Regions from separate parts of the Homo sapiens genome. Here regions 2, 3, 4, 5 and 6 are each linked to region 1. The links are contacts of gene promoters, found by promoter capture Hi-C in blood cells and fetal thymus (Javierre and others, 2016). All regions are on one chromosome and are shown on one strand. The core of a region is centred on a gene start or on the middle of the fragment in contact, and the rest is flanking DNA. Distances in the headings are between cores, read along the strand shown. Region 1 holds the start of LRRN3 (leucine rich repeat neuronal 3). Region 2 overlaps IMMP2L (inner mitochondrial membrane peptidase subunit 2). Region 3 overlaps IMMP2L (inner mitochondrial membrane peptidase subunit 2). Region 4 has its middle 450 kb from the start of LRRN3. Region 5 overlaps IMMP2L (inner mitochondrial membrane peptidase subunit 2). Region 6 has its middle 480 kb from the start of LRRN3.

Region 1 (2,700 bases), core at 129-2,628:
CCCCTTTTCACTAAATTAGGACGGTTCTACTCATATTCATAGCCTGCTTTCACTGAAATTAGAGGCAGAGAAACAAGGACATATTGTTAAAAATGAATAAATTAGAGCCGAATTAAGCCATCCAGCTCAACAACAGCAAAGGGAATATAGCAGTTGGTTAGAACAAACAATTTTCTTAAATAGGAAATGTACTTTAAAGCCATCCTGCTGTGATCCTGTTAATTACCAAAGATTAGAACTCTTCTGGTTCATGGGATCCTTTCACCTAGTGTGTGGCAGTTCCAGCTGCATTAGCAATCAGACATTTGCACTGTCCCTTCAGACCAGCGAGGGGATGTTATTAAAGGGAAGTCATTTACCCCAGTCCGTAAGATGTAGCCTGGCAGAAATTCAATAACTGTTTGTGATATGCTCATTCTGCTACTCTGCTTAGTGGTTTAGCTCTTAACATACAACAGCATTTGCCTTAATTTGCATCCACTGGATGAGACAAAATAAAAATGCCCCATTTGGTGGGTTGATTTCAAAACAGAGAATAATGTGTGATCTGCTTTTCACTACAAATAATGTGAAGAAAAAGGAAAATTGCACCCCATCACCCGTGACTCTCCTCTCCTCTCTGTCTCCTCTCTGTCTTCTCTCTTCCCCATCTCCTTCTCTCTCCCTCTCCTCCTCTCTTCTCCCCCACTGTTCCCTTCTCTTCTGTCTCCCTCCTTTTTCTCCTCCCCCCAACACTGCTTTTTCTCTCCCACTCACATCCTCTAATGGGCATTCAAGCTAGTAAAATGCATGTTGGAGAATCTCACAAACACAGCTAGGCACACACAGAGCCAGCTGGGTTTTGCATGTGAATTTCTTCTCAAAAGTGCAATAAAAGAAAAATGCTCTTAGAATTCAGACAAGAAGAAGACATCAAAGGAGGATTTAGGTGTAAAAACATGATCATCGAAGAGACAAGAAATAGAACGTATTTTAAAATATATGTGTATTTTAAACTTACCTTGAAAAGCAGTTTCAGTGCTAGCCCACCTCCGATGTCCTTGCGTGCTGGATTCCTCAGTTCCTTGGTTGAGATAATCACATGGTTGTGTTCTTGCCCGGTATAAATAGGTGCATTTGTGTGTCTGTGTAACAAAGTGTACAAAATATATACTATAGATATGCACACATGCACGCAATCTTATCTCTCTATTTTAAAATATAAAGGAAGGCAGGAGGCTGCAGCCGGGATTCCTTCTTTTTCCTGGAACTCTTTTTCTCAGTCGGCAGGCTGAGGCTCTCAATCCAGTGAAGAGAGATCCTGTGAGCTGGCTTTATTTTTCCTTGTTTCCATGGTGGTTAGTGGTGCATCGTTCACCCGATCAGTTGTCACACTGACATGGTGCTGCCTGCTCAGCGGTCATTAATAACTGAACACCCTCCACTCCCCAGAGAGGAGCCAATCGCTTCAGACAGCCAAGATGTAGCACTCGCAGCTGCTCCAGTCTGGTTGGCTGAAACAAACTGTCTGTTCTATGACACTGCTGCTTAGGATACAAATAAATGAAACAGGCTTGCATGTTTTCCTAGGTATCATTTTCCTTCTTTTTTTTCCTTTCTGAGGGAATGTTGGGAATTTTTGACAAGTTTTCTCAATTTTAGGTTATCAGTCATTCAGAGAAATATGTTTTCAGTCTGCAAATAGAGAGGACACACTACTGATAAGGATTTCCTAAATATTAAAAACACCTGGTAGAGACTCAAACCTCCAACTCCGTCTCTGAAGTTCAGCAATGACTGCATTATTTAAGAAGAGAAGCTTGCAACTGTTTTGAGTGGCATTTGGTTCTCTATAGATCCTACTTAATTTAGCATATGTGCTTGGTGTTCAATAACACTTTTTTTTTTTTTTTTTTAGCAATGACATTTCTTGTCTGGATTGACCAGATTTTTAAAATAAAGCATATATTTGCCTCTCTGTAATTCACAACATTGGCATTTGAGGGGGTACTTTTTAAAAATATGTATTTCTAATTATACTCACTGACTTCTCTTTATATGATGTAATAAATCTAGGAGCTACATATGAATGGGTACATGTGTAGGTGTGTTTGTGTATCTGTGAGTGTGTGTGTGTATTTAGGATGTATTTTTTACCACTCTGGGGAAATATTTCGATTGTAATAAGTTAAATTATTTAAAAGACTATCTTTATTCTTAGGCCTATTAACTCTGAAAGGATATTTCCCAGGAAAATATACTATATAAGCCATACATGTAAAACATTTTTATTAATTACCAGAAATTTGGAAAACACAGAAACACATAGCAGTGCATATTTCTGAAAGAACATACATGAAAAATCAAAAAGCAGTTTTAAAAATGCATGTTTTACAACCTTAATTAGTATACTAGAGAAACATCTTGTTGAGGAGAATGGAACATGAGGATTAATATATCAACAGGTCAAAAGCAGGCTAGTCATGACTCCAACCCCAGTTTTGAGAGACTACCCTCTAGTGGAGTAAAGAGAAATGGCACTTATTAGATTTACTTAGGAAAAAAAAAACAAAACCTTCACATCTAATTGCTCCTTAAGTGCTTATTGACATGACATAGAACAATAGTTTGCAGTTATTATAATAATAATAATACCAGGAAAAATTTTAAACAGTAGGCTTGTCTTTAAATACTGAATATTTTCACTCTGTAGTTTTCTAG
Region 2 (2,700 bases), core at 173-2,672, 430 kb before region 1:
AACCTCCATACTCTTTTCTGTAATGGCCATATTAATTTACATTCCCATAAACAGATATAAGGGTTCCTTTTGCTCCACCTTTGCCAGCACTTGTTGCCTTTTGATAATGGCCATTCTAACTGGGGTGGAATGATATCCATGTGGTTTTGATTTGCATTTCCCTCATGACTGCGCATTCTTTTCATATACCTGTTGGCTATTTGTATGTCTTCTTTTGAGAAATTATTGTTAAGCTCTTGGGCATTTTTTAATTGGGTTGTCTTTTTGCTATTGAATTGTTGGAGTTCCTTATGCGTTTTTGGATATTAGCCTCTTGTCAGAAGTATAGTTTCCTTATATTTTCTTCCATTCTGTAGGTTGTCTCTTCATTACGTTGATTGTTTGCTGCACAGAAACTTTTTAGCTTGATGTAATCTCCATTGTCTGTTTTTGCTATGATTGACTGTGCTTTTGAAGTCTTATCCAAAAAAGTCTTGCCAAGACTCCAGCTTGGGTGACAGAGTGAGACCCTGTCTAAAAACAACAACGACAACAACAACACCAACACTGCCACCACAAACAGCGCAAGTGATTTATCTGTGATTTAACAGTCCAAATGTAAGCAATGCAGGACAGTATGGTGCCTCCATGGTGTTGCGGACCTAGGATCGTTCCATTTTGTTGCTTTGTCATCTTTACTTGAAGCTTTTATCTCATAGTTTGAGATGGCCACCCCTGCTCCTACCACCAAATTGTTAGTATTACAGTTATAAAATGGGGAAGAAAAGGGAGGGCATCCTCCTTTTCAGGGTGCAACCAAGAATTATATCCTTTCTACTCATGCTGTTGATCAAATCCAGTGACATGGTCACAATTAGCTGCAAGGGAGGCTGGAAAACAGTCTTTAGTTGGGCAGCCACATGTTCCACTGAAACTTTTATTACTGTAGAAGAGAACAGATATCAGGGGTATAAGGAGTAACTTCATCATAATAGCAACAGAAAAGAATTTACTTCTGGAATGCTTGTTTTTTTCTAACTTACTGTTTTGTGGGGAGAAATTTCCCACTGAAGTTAGCAAGTGGACTTGAGTTGTGGAAAAGCATTAACCTGAGTTCACGTATTTCACTTTAGGACTTTAAGTAAGTCAGATTTATTCTAATGGTTACAGGAATGAGTGTGTAATATATTAAGAGACAAGATTGCCCTTCGGTAACTCTTACTTTTCATGTACTGTTTTTATGTCTTTGTTTTTCACCTTTCTTGAGACTAATTTCATAGTTGTTTTCTTTGTATTTTTAGGTATGGCACAGTCACAAGGGTGGGTGAAAAGATACATCAAGGCCTTTTGTAAAGGCTTCTTTGTGGCGGTGCCTGTGGCAGTGACTTTCTTGGATCGGGTCGCCTGTGTGGCAAGAGTAGAAGGAGCATCGATGCAGGTGAAAATGATATAACTTCGTTCTTTAAAGCACATACTTCATTGTTTTTCAAGCACTAGAAATGAGAGTGCTAATTATTATTCCTATTCTGGGAACTGAAAGGTTATAAAAAGGCATTGAAATGAAATTTTACTTTACTGAATTTGTTCTTAAGGTCTTCTAATACAGTCGTATTATAATCAGAGGAGAGGTTAATAAAAGTAACTATCAGTTCTCTGGGTCTGTAGTTTAAATTTTTCTGAGAATTTTAAATGGAGATTCTTAAGAAATTATACTAAATGACACTGTTTTCTGTGAATATGGCTCTATTAGAATATCCTTTTAATGCCAAATTATTAGTGTAGTTGCAAGATGGGTTTGAGTCACAATCAGTTGCTCTCTTGTTATATAGGTATATGATTTCAGTTTGTAGAAATGTCTAGACCATTGATCCCAGATATTGTATTGTGTTCTTTAAGCATGTTGCTAATTGAAAAGATTAAGTGCAGTTTACAGTGGAAGAACTTTGGAGTGGAGATTTCCAAAAGTTTTATGCAAATAGTCTTCTGGAATAACTTAGAGAAAATTATGTTGTCCTAAAGTTGATGTCTAGAACCTAGCTTTTTTAGTAAGTTTAAGCAGTTAGGCAGAATTTGCATTTTGTTATAGGATTTGGTTTCCTGTATTATCAATATGTATTAAGTTCATGCGTTGTGGTAAATAGTTGTATAAAACAAATAACTAAAATGAATATATAAGCTTCTAAAAAATCAAAATTATACAGAGAATAACCAGCTTAATTTTTTTTCTTTTTGTTTCAGTTAGAACTAGTTAAGGGCATAGTTATCAGCTTTAAGGAGTTAGAATTAGTTTGCTTTATTTATTATAATTATGGTATTGAACTTCTCCCTGAGTTCTGGTAGTCAGATACAGAAGGTCAGGAAATCCTTTAGCTTCTTTGGGAAAAGCTACATTTTTAAAACAGGACTGCCTTTATATTCTACTTCCATCATTTGAGCATGGTTAGGGCCTTTTCTTGGGCAGAAGATTCTGCTCTCAACCGTGTCTTTCAGGTTCTCTCCATAGTGGATCACCAGCCCAAAGCAAACTGGTCACTTACTTTGAATGCCAAAATATCTTAATGTAGGGGTACAGTAAACATAGAAAGAAAGATTTATAGGCATATGGCTTTAAATACACTTTAATATGTTTAAGATAGAATGTATTTTACATTCGTTGCCTCTTTAATCTTGAATTCCTAGCAGCCTTGTCTTAGACTCAATCCTTAGGGAAACGTAGACTTT
Region 3 (2,700 bases), core at 111-2,610, 460 kb before region 1:
CAATCATCAATGACTGTTAGAAGTCACTGGTTTCATTGTAGTGGTGGAGGTAAAGCTATCGTGCTGTGGGTAAAGGACTGAATAGGAGATGAGGCTGAAGGGGGCTGGACATGAGAATAGAGAGTAGATATGCTTGGGTCCCTCTTAGGAGATAATTGTTCTTCAGTCAGGGTATTTACTTAATACATTTTATTGTGTATATTTAAGGAAAATAACATGTTATGGAATACATGTAAATAGTAAAATGGTTACTGTAGTGAGACATAGTAACATCCATCATCTTACATAGTTATCCATTTTTGTGTGTATGACAAGAGTAGCTAAAATCTACTCATTTAGCAAAAGTCAGGAATACAATACAGTATTATATAGTACTGATGCTGTACATGAGTTCCCAAACTCTTTCATTATACATGGCTGCTACTTTGTGTCCTTTGACCTACATCTCAATTTCCTTCCCCCTCCCCTGGGATCACTGTTTTATTCTCCATCTCTGTATGCACACATATTAGAATCCCCTAGAGAGCTTTTAAAAATTCCGACTGATATCTTTACAAGGTTGCGGTTTCATTTTCTTTGGGTATGTATATATATATATATATACATGCACACAGAAGAGGGATGGCTAATTGGTACAAAATAGAAGTAATGGTAGTTCTATTTTTAATTTCTTTAGGAACCTCCCTACTTTTTCCATAATGGTTGTACCAATAGTATACAAGGGTTCTCTTTTCTCCCACCCTCGCCAACACTTATCTCTTGTTTTATTTGGTAGTAGCCATCTTGATGGGTGTGAATATATGGAAACAACCTAACTGTCCAACAAAAGACAACAGAAAATCAAACTGCAGTACATATATAGAATGGAATATTATTCAGCCTTAAAAAAGAAATAGATTCTGCTTTTTGCCATAAGATAGGTAAACCTAGGGGACATTATGCTAAGTGAAGTAAGCCAAATGCAGAAAGAAAAATATTGTATTATCTCACATGTGGAATCTTAAAAAAAAGTCAAATACATAGTGAAATCATATCACTGCTTCAGATTTTATTTTTTGAGAGAGAAACAACATGTCTGTATGCTGTGAGTTAGAAACACCATAGAAAGGGAGATGTTGAAAATACAGTTGCCTGATTCCTTGCTTGTCATATTTTTTTTTTTGTGAATGAAGATTAGGTTGTCGCTTTGTTTGCCTACTCCTTCCCGGCTTGCAAAATTCATATCTGACCCCAACTGTCAGATATGAATTTTAAATGTCCTTTCTACTCTATTCTTTCCTGCCCCACAGTTCACTGCTGTCTTGCTCTCACTACGTCTGGCCCTTTTGCATACATTATTCTCTAACCTAATCCAGTTGTGCGTAAAAACTCCATTTTCCTTTATTAAAAGTTGAAAAATTTCACAGGAGTGTCTGCTAGGAGAATGGAGGAAATAATGATAACAAACATAAAAATCATTCAGCATAGCCAACATGTATTAATATCTGCTATGGTAAAGGCCCTGGATACAAAGATATATATGGCAGGAAGGATGAGTAACATAGGGATCTGATCTTAATGCATTTATGCCTAGTGCTCCATTATTGGAGCGCTAAGCTAGTGGGAGTTATTTATATCCTACTTCTCAAGGTCATCGCCAAGGCCTGATTTTTCACAAAAAAAATTTGCAACCTCCAGCATAAATGGGTTAAGGACCCCTCAGGGCAGTGAGAAAAATGGATATATAAATAAAGCAGCACCAGTACTTTGGGAGGCTGAGGTGGGTGGATCACCAGAGGTCAGGAGTTCGAGACTAGCCTGGCCAATATGGCAAAACCCCGTCTCTACTAAAAATACAAAAATTAGTCAGGCATGCTGGCATGTACCTGTAATCCCAGAGGCTGAGGCAGGAGAATCACTTGAACCCAGGAGGTGGAGGTTGCAGTGAGCCGAGAATGTGGTACTGCACTCCAGCCTGGGTGACAGAGCAAGACTCCATCTCAAATAATAATAATAATAATAATAAAATAAAAATAAAGCAATGCTTTGAGGGACAATATGTGCTATGATAGAGTTCAAGGTAAGATAGATGCAAAAAATGGACTTCATTATTTTTGTGATCCTGAAGGTCTCACAAAAGGTGATACCTGAGCTATAGCTTGAGATATGGCATGGTGAGGTTCGGGGAGTAAGATTAGGGGAATAAAATATTCCTTAATGGCCCCACGATAGCAGCAGAAGGGGCTTGGGTTTCTCATCTTCCCTTTCTTCTTGTTCTGCGTGATTTTATTGCAAGATATTTTTGTGTTTGAGGGAGTTCTTAGGGGGTTAATATGTTTCAGTTTACATATAGACGTATCAGCATTTTCTCCCTTGTGATATAAACTTTCTGTGAATTTACCAACACTGGTTTATTATATATTAGACAGCTAACACAAACCAGTGCAATTATATCAAGTATCTGGGGGATGAGGTCCAGGCAGTGATATTTTCAAAGCATCTTAGGTGTCCTCATGGCAGTCAGGGTGGAGAACCACTGGGCTAAAACATGGCTTAGAAGAAAAGGCTGGGATTTGGAGCTAAAAAATTGTAGATTAGATTCTTGAATTCCTTTTAATAGTTACGTATCCTTAGTTAAGTTACTGAGACTTCTCTAAGGCCATCATTGAAAAATAGGATGGTAGTATACCCGTCCTGCCTACCTGTTTTGCAAAGTTATAT
Region 4 (2,700 bases), core at 154-2,653, 450 kb after region 1:
ATTGATTGACACAAGCAGAAGCCTGGAGAAGGAGTAACTAGGGCTGTGGTCTCTGCCCTGTAATATCAAGATTCGAACCTGAGACCTCTATTCTAGGAGAAATCCAATACCCTTTTTTAAATTCCTCCTAAAATTTTAGATGCTAAGATGTGCTTAGGCTAGTGGTAAACTGGGGAAGAAATGCAGAATCTAACAGTATTCAAATCCAGTTAAAAAATATAAACACCCTTATGATGCCAAATTGGTGAATGAGCTACCACTTTGTCAACCTGTCTGAAGGAATCACTCATAACAGCTGGTAATCATTTGTTTTTTATGTCATTATGGCCAGTAGAAGATGTTGATCTTCTTGTTCCCTCATGCTATTCTTTTTTTCATTGGCACAGCTGTCTTGCTTTTCTCAGAAATGTAGTTCTTCCTCTTTTTCAACCTCCTTCCTCACTCCTTTATTCTCTTTAACCCCAGAGCATGGCACTATCCTGTCCTGCACACCTCCCTGTCCTCCATGTGTCTCTCTCTTTGCCCCTGTGTGTTTACATATCCCTCCCTGCCCTTGTAATAATGAACATATACATGCATTTTTAAAGTTTATTAAGTAATAATAACAAACAATTCTGATGGTAATTTTTTAACATGAAACTGAAAGGAAAGATTTGTTTTCCTCAAAAAATCTTGTCCCTCTCTTGCCCCCTTACCTTCATTAAATATAACCTTTAAACTTGGGTCCAGCTCATGAGTATGTATTTTTTCTATTGGTCACTTATTCTTAATCAATTTATAGAAATAACTGTGTGCTATTATTTAAAAGTTCATATTAAAGCTTTTCTTTTAAAGAGAAGAAATTCTCCTGTTCTAAAGAGTTAATTATAATTTGTAGTGAATGATCATTACATTTTTACCAAAATGAAGAACGTAATTGAAATGTGTCTCTTTGGGAAAGTGCATATAGTATATGACTTCTTTCTGACCATGAATTTCCCTGAAACAAAAGTCTAGCATAGTCAAATTTACTTTTCTATACCTATTTAGCAATCAAGAGAATTTTGTTCTAAGGATAAGCAAATATTAACTGTCCACTATGGGAAATAATAGAAAGGGGAGGATTGGGGATTTGGGAGAAGAAAATGGGGATTGAGCACATGGAAAACTAGGAGTAGAGGTTTATTGCAGTGGTTTTCAGAGAGGAAAAGGAAGGCAGAAGGTGAGTAATTTGGGTCTCAGAATGGCCTTCCTGTATAGTGAGAGGAGCAGAAGTCAGGAAGGAGTCCTCAAAAACAGGCTGGGGAGCCAAGTCCAAGTATCCTGCCACATTCTAGAATCTCCTGGTGAATATCCTGTGTTTAGAGATTTGAAAACACTCATTTGCTGCTAGAGCAGATATGCTGAATAAGGCAACAGTAGCATGTTATTTGAAGTCTTCGTCATCCTGCAGCCATGCGGTAGAGTTGGACTTGGGAGTCCAAGCTCATAACTCTGATTCATAAAATCCAAAAGGCATTGACCTCTTGGAGGGAAGAAAAGATGGGAGAGGGTAAGGTGAGGGAAAATGCCTCTCACAATGCAATGCTTTCCTCAAACAGAGCACAATTGATTTTAAGCATGTCTTTGACAATGAATAAAAAGGGAGATCCTGAGGAATGGATGGTCTGAAAATTTCATCTCAGAACCCATTCTTACTATTTAAGTTATATAAAAATTAAAGATAACATCTTTATTTGCTTTGTTTGTGGGTTTTTATTGTCTCAGTTTTTGCTGATATTTAAAATATTTTAAGATTCCCTTTTATGCCCTTAGTTCTTCTAACATTATTTATCTTATAAAGGTTTTTAGTCCTTCTACTTAAAATTCTCTTGCTATGAGGGATTGCAGAAAGGTCGTCTTTGCAGTTATTGCAATTGAGGGGAAGAATACTGGACATTTGATTTAAGGAATTTAGAAGGTCTTTATCAATATATATCATCCCTGAGAAGTAATTATCTAAGCTTTGTTTAAATGCCCAAGTGATGGAAAATGTGTTGTCATATAGACAGCCCATTAAATTTAAGATAGGATTATTTGTTTGACAACTTTCCTTACATTGATCTAAAATTTTTCTCTCTGCAATTTCTTCTGCCTTCTGAAATAAAGAAATGTGATCTATTTTTTTTTCTAAGAGGTGTTGACAATTTTTTTTTTACGTGTAGTTCAAGTTCTTTCCTTTAGTAGCAAGTTTCCTGTATATTCCTATACATTGTGGGTTTTTTAAATTATCACATATGATACTTTTATGACTGTAATTCCTTATATCTGACTTAGGTTGGTGGCTTCATTTAATCTCATTTGGTCTCTCAAATCCTTCCCCCTTTTCCTTCCCTGCCTACTGCTCTTACCATCCACTGTCCCAGACCTTTCTACTCCTACAGCTCCCACCTTTTCTTGTCCCCAATTGCACCTTCTCTGCAAACAAACAAGAGCTTGGGCCTGACAGGTAGCTCCTCTGAGGCTGGTGGATATGTCATGGGGACAAGTGGGCATCGGGCCAAGTGTTAGCCACCTTCCATGTGAGGGCGAGACATCAAAACTGCTGTGTCTTAGGGCCGCCAGCCCCAGTGAGAGCAGAGGAGCTTCCCAGAGGCAGTGGCTCTAAAGGCTCCTTTGATGGAGCTATGCTTGGCAGGAAGGGGCTGGCGTCCCATGGGACCAGCTGCATTGGAGCCTGTA
Region 5 (2,700 bases), core at 116-2,615, 330 kb after region 1:
GAATTCAAAGCATTATCTGCTTTTAGGACCCCAGTCTAGGTAGAAGCTAGGAGTGGGACAGGGGCAGAGGTACGGACCCCGTGTTGACCAGGGAGCTATGCTGGCAGTGTTTAGCTTTGGTACAAACAGAACATTTAAGGTATGTTATGTAGACCTGACAATTGTCATGATGACACTAGAGGTCAGAAGTTAGAGAAATGAATAAGCTGTGATTTATACTCAGCATGGCATAGATGTTAAGGGCTCAAGCTGCCAATTAACAGCTAAGTGTTTGTTTAAACTCTTTAAGCCTCAGGTTCCTCATCTGTGAAATTGGATTTGTAATCATATTTGCTTCACAAGATAGTTGTAAGGATTACATTAGACAATACATGTCAATGAGGTTAGCCTTTACACATAGTAAGTTCCCAGCCTACAGTAAGCATCTGATAAGTATAAATGGTTATTTTCATAAAAATTTAAAATCTCCTGAGAGGTACTTGATTGATGCATATCTACTTCAATTTTATGACACTGTGAATCCTTCCTGTAGAATATGTTTACTTTTGGAGATCATTAGGAAGGACTTCAGCATAGTGTTCTTGATTTCTTATAACCAGCCTAAATAGAGATGGCATTAATTCCACCCTAGTACTATATCGAATCTAGGTTGATGAGTTCAAGATTCTTCTGTCATGGAAAGGACATCATTGATCATTGGAAAGCTTTGTTTGCTAAACAGTCAGCAGGGCTTGATGTGAGGTAGATAAAGAGGAATGGCTATATTTTCGTTTTTTACCATCCCCATCGTCAAGAAGTCATTATTTCCCATTTGTTTTTCTAGTGGAGTGCTCATATTCTACAGACTGAGAAACCACTTAGTCCCCTTCTGGAATCCCACTATGTTAGAGATGTTTGCTGCCACCAAAAGTTTAAAGTTTGACTGGCTGAAAGGTGGACCAGCTTTGAATCTCAGCCATCCATAGGAAGAACTGCTCTGATACACCAACAGCTCTCATTCTCCCTTACTCATCAGCAAGCCCTGTATTTGGTAGCAGATGCTTTTCAAATTCACCTGATATCGCTGCATTGCAATGTTTGCTTTCTCTATTCTCCAACCCACTTATGTCACTTATACATCTGGTTTGACTTCTCTGGCTCCTGTGGCTTGTTGGGCCATAATTTCCTCTAAGGTCTGCATGACCTTTGTGAGGTGCCTACTGTGATGATCCTATCTGGCGTTCTACACTTGTAGTAAGAAATAGGTGTTTAGTCAGAGCTGTTAACAATAGTCAGCAAACCTTTTGAGATATTCCAGGTATTGAAGTGCTATGAGAGATTTTGAAATAAATATATTGTAGAACAAAAAGAAAGCACAGACCAAAAAAGATTCAATTCTGTGATATGTTGGAAGGAAAACGTAACCAACACGTTGCTCCCTTTCAATATGGATTGGTATCTTCTAGGAACTTCATTCCTTCCCAGCAGTTGCCCTCCTGGGAGTTGGGGACAACAAAAACTCTTTTATATAAGCTGAAAGCAGTGAGTAATAGACCACTTCTCAGTCTAGTTGTTGGTATGGGCATTTCATTTCTGACCTTTAATGTAATTTACCTAAACAAACAACTGATAATGGAAAACATCAGCTTCAGAGCCCTTCACAGTTTTAAAACATTTTCATCTATTGCTGAATTATTGTAGTTTCCTGAACACTATACAGATTATCTCTATTAGAAAAAGAAGTTTCCAATTTAAACTTAATGTGAAGGGTAGTCCAATATTGGATGTAAACAACTTCTCTAAGGCAGATGCAGATAAACACTAATAGAAAGGGAATGATACTATCTTAGGCCTGGACGTGGAGAATTGAGACTGAATTCTCAAGGTGGCACAAAAGCAAGTGAATTCTCAACCCAAGGCTGATAAGTAGATAATAATTAGAAAAATAAAACGGTTTTCTTTTGTGATGACAAAGCACAGATGTCTCCACTTGATTTCATATTAAATGGAAGGCTTAACTGGCATTGTGGGGAGAAAAGGAAGCTTTTTTTCTCCTCAGAAAGTGCTGGAGCAGATTGTCTGTTAAAAAGCTTAATAAAGAATTCAAAGACAGAGACCTCACAGCAGGGGTAAAAGGAGTAACTGGGTTGGGAAAGAATGAATCTAATAATAATAAGCAACTTTGCTTCTGCCAGGAAGTTCAATTCTGAAAATTCACACAACATAAACTCAATTCATTTGTATCCTCTCTTATTTGAAATTATTGAAGCTATAACTTCAGTAGTTCATTGATGTCAGGGTTCCCCTAGAAATAAAAGTTGAACAAGGGCATGTATATACTTTCTTAAGGAAACAAGTAAATCCCTAAGTCTGTCTGTACATACATGTTACCAAGAAAGGAAATAAAGCAGCTCCAAAATCTGTTTTTAATATTAAAGCCTAGTCAAGAATGTGTTCCCTGACTCTTTTTACCATAGCCATTTTTGAAAATAGGGCCTCTTTATAAAATACTTAGAATTAATAAGAATATGCATCATGAACCTCCTTTTCTCATGAACACTTATACAAACCTTCTGCCTTAGTATCCATTTAGTCCATATCTTTCCTCGCATATCATGCTATTTTATTTGACCAGCCTCCTTTCAGAAATTTATATTTAAATTCATTCATTCGGCAAATGTTTATCTCACATCTACTTTGTGCAAGTCACTGAGGACTCAG
Region 6 (2,700 bases), core at 194-2,693, 480 kb after region 1:
AGAAGTGCCATGACTCAAAGAGTCTCCTTACTCTAAGACTAAGAATCTCCCATCAACGTTTAGTATAGTCATCAACTTTAGGGCATAGTTTCCAAAGCACTTGTGAGTAACTGTGCTAATTAACATGTCCATTTCCTCTTAAGAACATGCCAAACTTTCATCTGTCAGTCAGGCAGATCCAGGAGGTATTATGCCCTCAGCTGAGGAAGCCCTATTATTATATATGAAAAGGATTCATTGAGAGCATCACTGTCAGAGAAGTCAAAGGAGAGTATATAAATGGGAGAATGTAATGTGTGATCTGATCCAAAGCAATTAATATAATTTTCTGTTTAAGTTAAAATTGCTGATATGACAGTGGGGCAGGGTGTGATTCATGAGGAGTTGATTTAGACCCTAAGAGAAAAAAGGAAATTAATCTAGAAAAGAATAAGATTTAAAAACATTTTATGGTACATGTCGTTATCATTGTTAATTATTATTAATATAACGTTAATTATAATGTTGGTAATATAGTCATTATTAATATGCTGAGGAGACTAAGATCCATTATATATCAACTTTTGATTTGAAAGGAGGTTATTGGCTGAGACCTTGGTTATCAGTCATTTATTATTTCCCATTTGGAATAGAAGAATAGGTCATTTTTGTTTAACCTATATAGTCAGAAAAACTTTGTTTCAGTGCTTCTATGGTGAACATGAAGTAATGTGTTCTCAGTGTTTTATGACAGTGTTGTTTCTCTGTCTCTAGGAGGAGAAAGACTTTCTCTTTTTAAAACCGGAAATATATCCTGCCTGAAATAATTTGGAGAACTCCTCGTTGTGAAGTCTACAGGGACATCAAAAAAACACAGCTATCTGTTCCCCAGCTATATCTTCTTCTTTATCCCTTGGAACATTTGTAGCTGCACTTCCTACAAGAAGGAACCATTTGTAATCATGAGCAAAGGTTGATTCAAGATTTTATCGAAGGTATTTAAATATTCTTCATTTGAAGAGTAGTTATGTGCTTCTACGGGCAGAGGCCAATCTAATTTTTCTTAATGTCCCCAGAGCCTACCATGTTGCCTGACAAGGTAGAGATGCTTGCTCAACATTTACTGAAAATGGAGGCTAATATCACAGAAATAACTAATCCCTCTCAAATCTGGGGATTTAGTTTTCTTTCACTCTGTCCCACCCCCCACTAAATATCCACAGTTTCCATTCCTCCATCCTTTTGAGTTAGGTATATTTTAATTTTGATTATATCAATTTAATATTTCTATTATGATGATTACATAAACACCTTTTATAACCACACCCTCTTCCTTCTGCCCCTCCTACCTGTTCTTCCTCACCCTCAGCAACCACCAGCCTGTTCTCCATTTCTAAAATTTTGTCATTTCAAAACCATTATATAAATATGGAGTCATATAATATGTAACCTTTGGGGTAAGTTTGTTTCACTCAGCATAATTACTTAGAGATCCATCCAAGTTGTTGCTGCATGTATCAATAGTTGCTTCCTTTTGATTGCTTAGTAAGATATCATGGTATGTATGCACCACAGTTTGCTTAACCATTTCCTTACTGAGGAACATCTGGGATGCTTTCTGTTTTGGGCTTTCATGAATGAAGCTGCTTTGAAGACCCAGGTACAGGTTTTTGTATGAACATAATTGTCATTTCTCTGGGAGAAATGCCCAAGAGTGCAATTACTAAGTCACGTAGTAATTGCATATGTAGCGCCACAAGAAACTACTGTTTTCCATGGTGGTTGTAACATTGTACATCCCCACCAGCAATGTGTAAGGGTTCTAATTTCTCCACATCCTCATAGACACTTGTTTATGAAACTTGTTTAGAAAAGCACTATCATGCTTTCTTAAAATTTATTTAAGCATCCCAGTTGATGGGAAGTTGCATCTCCTTATGGCTTTGATTTGCCTTTACCTAATAACTATTGATGTTGAACACCATTTTTCACATTCCTCTTGGCCGTTCCTATGTCATCTTTGAAAAAATCTCTATTCAGATCCTTTGCCCATTTTTGAACTGGGTTATTTATCTTTTTATTACTGAGTTGTAAGAGTTCTTTATGTATTCTAGATACAAGTCCCTTAACAGATGTATGGTATTCAAATATTTTCAGTGGACTGAATTTTCACTTTCTTGATTGTGCCCCTTGAAATACTAAAGTTTTATTTTGAGGCAGTTCAATTTATTTATTTTTTCCTTTGGTTGCTTATGTTTTTGGTGTCATATTTAAGAAAATGTTGTCTTATTCAAGTTAAGAAAATTTACACCTGTGTTAACTTTTCTAAAGGTTTCATAGCTTTGGCACTTACATCTAGATCTTTAATCCAGTTTGAATTAATTTTTGCATGTGTTATAAGGTAAGAGTCCAAATTCATTCTTTTGAATGTAGAGTTTCATTTAGCCCAGCACCATTTTCCCAAAGACTATTCTTTCTCCAGGAGATGATCTTGATACCCTTGTTGAAAACTGATTGACAATAGATACATTGATTCTCAATTATATATACACAAATATATATGTGTGCATGTGTGTGTGTTGATTACTGTAGCTTTGTAATAGGTTTTGAAATCAGAAAGTGTGAGTCCCACAACTTTGTTCTTAAAGATTGTTATGGGTATTTGGGCTTCCTTGTACTTTCTTATAAGTTTTAGGCTTAATTTCTGTGTTCATTATATAA

What was found. Contacts are between HindIII fragments. The CHiCAGO score rates a contact against its expected background, and 5 or more counts as called.
Region 2: a fragment that was not itself captured here is called in contact with the fragment with the promoter of LRRN3 in region 1 in 2 of 17 cell types (total B cells and naive B cells); the score reaches 5.5 in total B cells.
Region 3: a fragment that was not itself captured here is called in contact with the fragment with the promoter of LRRN3 in region 1 in 1 of 17 cell types (M2 macrophages); the score reaches 5.9 in M2 macrophages.
Region 4: a contact is called between a fragment that was not itself captured here and the fragment with the promoter of LRRN3 in region 1, in 2 of 17 cell types (activated CD4 T cells and non-activated CD4 T cells). The highest score is 6.4, in activated CD4 T cells.
Region 5: a contact is called between a fragment that was not itself captured here and the fragment with the promoter of LRRN3 in region 1, in 1 of 17 cell types (activated CD4 T cells). The highest score is 5.0, in activated CD4 T cells.
Region 6: a contact is called between a fragment that was not itself captured here and the fragment with the promoter of LRRN3 in region 1, in 1 of 17 cell types (activated CD4 T cells). The highest score is 7.2, in activated CD4 T cells.

The regions. Positions count from the first base shown.
Region 1 is chr7:111,089,805-111,092,504 of GRCh38, reverse strand. It overlaps LRRN3 (leucine rich repeat neuronal 3), which reads right to left and starts at 1,378. Exons shown (of 3, transcript NM_001099658.2): 1 at 1,001-1,378. The region is part of intron 3 of IMMP2L (inner mitochondrial membrane peptidase subunit 2); the gene reads left to right. The HindIII fragment of the contact is 3,940 bases long and covers 1-1,800 here.
Region 2 is chr7:111,520,030-111,522,729 of GRCh38, reverse strand. It overlaps IMMP2L (inner mitochondrial membrane peptidase subunit 2), which reads left to right. Exons shown (of 6, transcript NM_032549.4): 2 at 1,281-1,417. The coding sequence starts at 1,283. Among named protein-coding and RNA genes, the nearest start is that of IMMP2L, 41 kb to the left of the region's middle. The HindIII fragment of the contact is 1,471 bases long and covers 687-2,157 here.
Region 3 is chr7:111,553,922-111,556,621 of GRCh38, reverse strand. The region is part of intron 1 of IMMP2L (inner mitochondrial membrane peptidase subunit 2); the gene reads left to right. Among named protein-coding and RNA genes, the nearest start is that of IMMP2L, 7.2 kb to the left of the region's middle. The HindIII fragment of the contact is 3,780 bases long and covers 1-2,700 here.
Region 4 is chr7:110,637,342-110,640,041 of GRCh38, reverse strand. No RefSeq gene overlaps it. Among named protein-coding and RNA genes, the nearest start is that of LRRN3, 450 kb to the left of the region's middle. The HindIII fragment of the contact is 1,162 bases long and covers 823-1,984 here.
Region 5 is chr7:110,759,334-110,762,033 of GRCh38, reverse strand. The region is part of intron 5 of IMMP2L (inner mitochondrial membrane peptidase subunit 2); the gene reads left to right. Among named protein-coding and RNA genes, the nearest start is that of LRRN3, 330 kb to the left of the region's middle. The HindIII fragment of the contact is 1,318 bases long and covers 707-2,024 here.
Region 6 is chr7:110,610,366-110,613,065 of GRCh38, reverse strand. No RefSeq gene overlaps it. Among named protein-coding and RNA genes, the nearest start is that of LRRN3, 480 kb to the left of the region's middle. The HindIII fragment of the contact is 3,027 bases long and covers 1-2,700 here.